2 separate regions of the Homo sapiens genome follow, and region 2 is linked to region 1. The links are contacts of gene promoters, found by promoter capture Hi-C in human tissues and cell types (Jung and others, 2019). All regions are on one chromosome and are shown on one strand. The core of a region is centred on a gene start or on the middle of the fragment in contact, and the rest is flanking DNA. Distances in the headings are between cores, read along the strand shown. Region 1 holds the start of NEO1 (neogenin 1). Region 2 holds the start of PARP6 (poly(ADP-ribose) polymerase family member 6).

Region 1 (2,876 bases), core at 252-2,751:
CTACATACACACTCTGCAAGGAAATGAAAAGTTTATCAGTCAAGTTACCTTGCAGTGTGATTTTAAATATTATTTCATATAAATCAGGGAAAAACAAGTACTGGTTCAGCGGTAAGACTGCTTTCAAATGTAAAAATATCATATCTCACACGAGTGAAAGTTTTGTCAAGTTTTATGGTACACCACCTTGGTCAAATAATTTTAACAGATTACATGCTAATTTGCCTTTCAACTGCTGAGTGTATCCTGCTCAACAATACCGTAAGGTCCTTCCCGGAAGGCTTGGCATTTTTGTTCGTTGGTCCCCTTAATAGGAATGCAGGTGGTTTCAGTAATCTATAATATTCCAAAAAAGAACTGAAAATGGCTTTTGAGGTTCAATGTTTATACAATGCCATCTGAAAACATTGTACAAGTACCTAAAATCTGATGCTTAGACAATTCCCTTGGTTAAGAGTGGTTAATAGGCTGTAAATATAGTTGTAATCCCCAGGAAAGAAGAGGCATTTCATAACGGAAACACTAACAGATACGATCACTCCGAGCCGCTCTCCAAGGCGTCCTCATCGTTAAATCAACACCAGGGGTTGTGAGCGGGCAATTGTGCCCCTCTGACACCCCCGCTCTTCCGCAGACTCGGGCTCCAATCCCCGCGCGAGGAGTCCCTCGAGACTAGCCAGCTCTTCCTCGAGACTTCGGAAGCTGGGAAATCCCTGGCCAGGGAACCAGGAGCTCAAGCCCCCTCCCCTTTCCTTTCCTGAAAATTAATGAATTGGCCGTCTGATTGTTTATTTAATGAGGTGTGTAGTGGCCTCTACTGGTGCTAGTGTGAGCACAAGAATGTCCCACTCTTACAAGTGGGATGAGCCTGGGGGAGGGGAGAGAGGCGAGGGGTGAACCTGCCTCCAGGTACAAAGCTGGGAACTAGACCCCTGCGCCCCCGACCTGCCCCCCGGCAGCCGCCCCTTCCCCGGTGGCGCCCCCTCTCGCCCTTCTCCTCCCCACCACGCGCGATCCCCTTTCTCTTCGGCAACCGGAGCCGAGGCAGAGAAGTTCCTGCACGTTTCCTCCTGGATCCTAAACAAAAACACCGCAGCCGCGGCCGCCTGAGCCGGTGCCGCGCCCCCGCGAACCCCCGGGCCCGCGCCCGCCGCTTACCTGGGGACTGCGGCGCGGAGCCGCTCCTGGCGGCCGCGGCGCCCGGCGCCCGGCGCCCGAGCAGCAGCAGGCAGTAGAGCCAGAAGGAGGGGGTGCTGAGGAGTCGCCGGGCTCCCCGCTCCGCCGCCATCTCTTCCCCGAGAGTGAGCGGCAGCGGCGGCGACAGCGCCGCGGAGCCCTTGCCTCCTTCCCTCCCGCGCGCCTCAGCCGGTCCCTCGCTGCAAGCTCGGCTCCCGCGGCCGCCGCTGCTCCAGCCCAGCCCGGCCCGGCCCGGCCCGCGCAGCCCCTCTCGCTGGAGGGGAGACTCCAGGGCGCCTCCCTCCTGCAAGGGGGCGGGGAGGGGAGGAGAGCGAAGAAGGGGAGTCAGTACATTCCGGGGCGGGGGGGGGGGGGCGGTGGGTCGGTCTCCAGGTTCCAGGCGCCGCCACCCGCCGCCGACTCCGGCTCCACACACCAGCGCGAGGGGGGCGGAGACCGCGGACGGCGGGGGCGGGGGCGGGGGCGGGGGGCGGGAGTCCCGGGCGCGCACACGCGCACGCGCGCGCCTCGCCCGCACCCCCTCGGCTCCGCGCGCGGCCCGCCCCCGCTCCAATCCCGGCTGCCGCCTCTCGGGCCGTGGCGGGCCCGCTCCCCTCCCCCTTCTCCCCGGAGCCGCTGACGGGTGCGGGGCGCGCGCGCCGGGCGCTGCTGCTGGCGTCAGGGAAACCCCGGAGAAGCGGATCCTCCTGCTCCTCCCGCCCGCTCGCCGCAGCCCCTCGGCTCCGCGCGCCCCCGCCTCCTCCTCCTCGCCTCGGGGACAAATTCCCCCCTCACCTCCCCAGATGCCTCTGGCTGCAGAGACCTGAGGGCGAGAGGCGCTCCGAGCTCAGGCTGGTCCGGGAGGCCGGCGTGGGCGCGCACCTCTGCACAGTCCGGGCCTGGAGCCTCTATATAGGGCCTCAGAGGAAACCGAAAGGCCTCCGGGAGGAAACCTGGGTGCGCAGTGGGTCGGCCCGGGGATTTATGTGCTCGCCAAAAACAATAGCGATCCCGCCCGACTCTTGCTGGGCCCTGGCGCGGCTCCCGTGGGAGGGGGCCGGCCGCGCAGCCGCTGACCTCCGGCTCCCAAGCCGGGCCGCCGTCGCCGCGCGCTTCCCCCGGGCAGCGCCGGGACCCGCCCGAACCGCGCCCCCACCCGCATCGCTCGGCCCGGGTCCAGGGAACTAGGCACAGACAAAGGTGCCCGCTGTCCACTTCCTCAGCTCGTGCGGGGGCCCCGACCGAGCCCTGGGACTCCCCGGGGCCAGTCTTCTCGCAGTAACTGCTACGTTTTACCTGTACCTTTGCGGGACACTTGGCGTTTTCCTACCTGGGAATCACGTCTTTCGCTGATAAACCAAGGAGCAAGTGGGATATGATTTTAAACCACTTAGTAATCGTGAGGCAGCACCCAGGCTACACAAAGTTAGGAGAAAGCAGTTTGTAGTTCCACTGCTGATGAGACTATTGATCATTTTATATACTGCACCCATGAAAAATTTTTAAAGAAAATTTATTTGTATGATTATGCAAGCAGAGTCACGTTTGGTGGTTGATAGGCGTTGGGTTTTATTCACTCTTCTGTGTAGTCGATAACCGAAATGTCTTGCTTCCCACAAGAAAATGGCTATTTCACTAACATATCCCTCTGTGCTTTCTCATAGTTACTTTCCAAAGATATTTTATTCTAAAGCGCCAAA
Region 2 (2,876 bases), core at 374-2,873, 780 kb after region 1:
CAAGGATGTGGACTGGGTAGGAAAAGAGGTGAAGCCTGGAAGATACTGGTAAACTATGAGGTGGCTGAGATTCATGATGAATAGAAGAGCTAGTGGTGGTATGCTGGAAAGGGGGAATCCTAAAGGTTATTGAATACTGGAGTTGGACTTGTCACTCATGGGCACAGTGCTTATGTTCAAACACTCCCATACATACTTGGTTCTCAAAAGCTATTACGGGGCCCTTGATGGTGAGTTGTTTTAGAGAGCAGGCCTGACTCCTTCCCCTACCACTCTGAACTTCCGCACTCTGAAACCGAGGTTATATTGATCCCTCACTTTTTTCAGTTACTATAAGCAGTAGATGTAACAAACTCACACCGAGACGGTGTTGTGGCCCAGGCTGAGTGGCAAGGTGAGCAGAGGGGGACATCAAAAGGGGAAGGAGTTAGAAAGGAGAGGCTGAGAATGTGCAAATGTAAATCAACCAACAACAAAAAGTTAACTGGGAAACTTCTGAGGCCAGCTTAGGAGGGATAGACATGACGTGTTTATATCATTCAGGGCCAAAGCCTTCTTTGTGTGTACTGTGTCCAGCTACAAAGAGGGAGTGAGGAAACAGAGTAGGTCTAAGATAAGCCTTTTCCCATTAGTGTTGATGGAAAAGAGGGTCACGTGGAAGCCCCAAGACTAATAAGGATGAAGGAGATCTGGCCATGTCTAGGGTTAATAACCACAATAACCACAATTACAGCTTCCATGTATGAACTACTTCCTAGTCCCAAGTACTCTGCTGGTTACTTTACATGGATTAGTTGGAATCGTATGAAATTGAAGGTATCTGACTGTTTATAAACTGCAAAAATAGCAATTTCCTACGGTTCAACCTAACACTATCTCAGTTCATCCTCACCACAACGGCTCCGTGAAACACATATTACTGTCTCCACCTCAAAGAGGAGAAATCAGATTCACAAAGTGAAAGTCATCGCTTAAGGCTGCACCATCAATAAGTGCCGAACCCAAGCTTCAGACCCAGATTGACTAGAAGGCCAGGGTGCTCTCCATCACGCTGCAGCTACCGGGGAACAAATGAGTTAAATGCCAGAATTTTTAAAAGCCCGAGGTGTTCGACTTCCATTGTCGAACCAGAGAATCCTGCAGTCAGCAAGGCCTCAGGACTTCCCTCAGTCTCTACCTGCCGGCCCCAACCTCCGGCGAGGGGACTCCCTCCCGGCCTACAGGCAACCTGGGTTGCCCTTCCTGCTTGTTCCTCCCAACCACTCGGGGCGCTAAATGCAAGTATTCTCCTTTGGAAGGCTCCCCGCACTCCCCCAGAGTCCCTCTTCCTTCTCCACTGCCTCCCCTACCCACGGCGCAGGCGCCACCCCCCACTCCGCACCCTTTCCCGACTAGCGACCGCCGCGCAGGCGTCTCAAGGCTGGCGTCGGCTGCTGAGGCGCGCCCAGGAGCAGGCCGTCAGGCTGTTGGTCAGGAGCGGGCCACGTGCCATCGTGTCACCGCGCGAGCGTGCGCAGAGTGGCTGAGCGCGCCCGTGACGGAACGACGAGGCGTGGGGTGCGCGACCTCGCCCGCCAGGCCCGGCCCCCGCCCCTTGGCCTGCCGCTCCGCCCCCGCGGGGCGTCCCGGGCCGCTCGTCCCGTCGGCTGCGGCCGCGCGCGGCCCGGGGTCGCCGTGAGTACTCGCCAGGCTGGCCTGTGTGGCCGCCACCACGGGCACAGGGCGGTGCGGCCGGGCCACGGGAAGGGTGCGGGGCTCGCCCCGTCTCCGCAGGGGTGGACGAAGTGAGAGGCTTGGACCGGGAGGTTCTGAGGGCCCCTCCTAGGCTGGACAGGCTTCACTCAGGCCCGGCGGCCGGGCGGCATAGATCGGGCCCAGAGCGTCTTTCCTGGGGAGGCAGGTGTTGGGTGTTTTTGGGGTCTTCAGGGGAGCCCCGGAGAACAGGTGTAACTGCTTCCCCGGGAGAGGCCTCAGGGCCTGTCCTGGAAGCACGGGTGCCAGAGAGTGTTTTCGCGGGGCAGCCGTGTCCTCTCTCCCTGCGGGGTGCCCGAGATAGCGCTAACCTGCGGGAGTCGCCCCTCAGTGATTCTTCCTAGTAGTCTTTGTTTAGTGGCCTACTCCTGAGAAGGGAGCACACGGGATGGAGTGGAGTAACCTCCTCCAGGACCACAAAGCCGGGAGCCCAACCCACAATTTAAACATTGAGCTCTGAAGCTGCTTTGACTAGACGTGAAGTTGTCACACCTAGAGAAGCGCCCATGGACCTAGGGAAAGACCTTTGTGATCCAGACTTGAGGCTCATTTACATTTGACTTATTCTCGTGGAAACTCATAAAGCGTTCTATATTAGCCGCTGAGTTTTAACACCTTCTCTGGACACTCATCATATAGTCTATTTTTGGCCCAACTTCTTTTGAAAGGGCCCATTCTTTACCTCATTTAGATAAATCAGATAGGTCTTTCTTGCTTACTTCATTAACAACTCAATTAATTATAACCACATCACATGAAGATTAGATGTAATTAGGACCTGTCCAATGTCTTTACATCCCAGTCCTTCTGTACTCCTAACCTTAAGCAAATTGGTCGACCTCTGTAGGTCTAAGTATTCTGTGTGTAACATGAAAGCTTTGAATTAGGCCACGTTTCCGGCTAATTTTTTAAAAAGTGTTTGTGATCCTGTGAATTCCATAACCCACCACCTTCCTTTTCCAACTCTTCACCTTTTAAATCCACTTTCCATCTCTCCAGAGGAAAGGGCATTGAGAGTAGAGGAAGCAAGTCCCTTTCACTAAAGCAGCCTGGTTTGAAAAAGCCGGTAATCTCTGAACTGTCTCTTGCTTGAACAAGAAAAACTCCCTCTGAAATACCTTTTT

The links. Contacts are between HindIII fragments. The study calls those that stand out against the background at their distance.
Region 2: the fragment with the promoter of PARP6 here is called in contact with the fragment with the promoter of NEO1 in region 1 in 1 of the 25 tissues and cell types used here (hippocampus).

Annotation. Positions count from the first base shown.
Region 1 is chr15:73,051,088-73,053,963 of GRCh38, reverse strand. NEO1 (neogenin 1) reads right to left here and starts at 1,501. Exons shown (of 29, transcript NM_002499.4): 1 at 1,159-1,501. The coding sequence starts at 1,288. RefSeq lists silencers at 1,182-1,561, 1,792-2,111, 2,202-2,271, 2,332-2,381. The HindIII fragment of the contact is 9,189 bases long and covers 1-2,876 here.
Region 2 is chr15:72,271,301-72,274,176 of GRCh38, reverse strand. It overlaps PARP6 (poly(ADP-ribose) polymerase family member 6), which reads left to right and starts at 1,623. Exons shown (of 24, transcript NM_001323532.2): 1 at 1,623-1,784. RefSeq lists enhancers at 1,121-1,210, 1,271-1,320 and a silencer at 1,461-1,880. The HindIII fragment of the contact is 3,446 bases long and covers 432-2,876 here.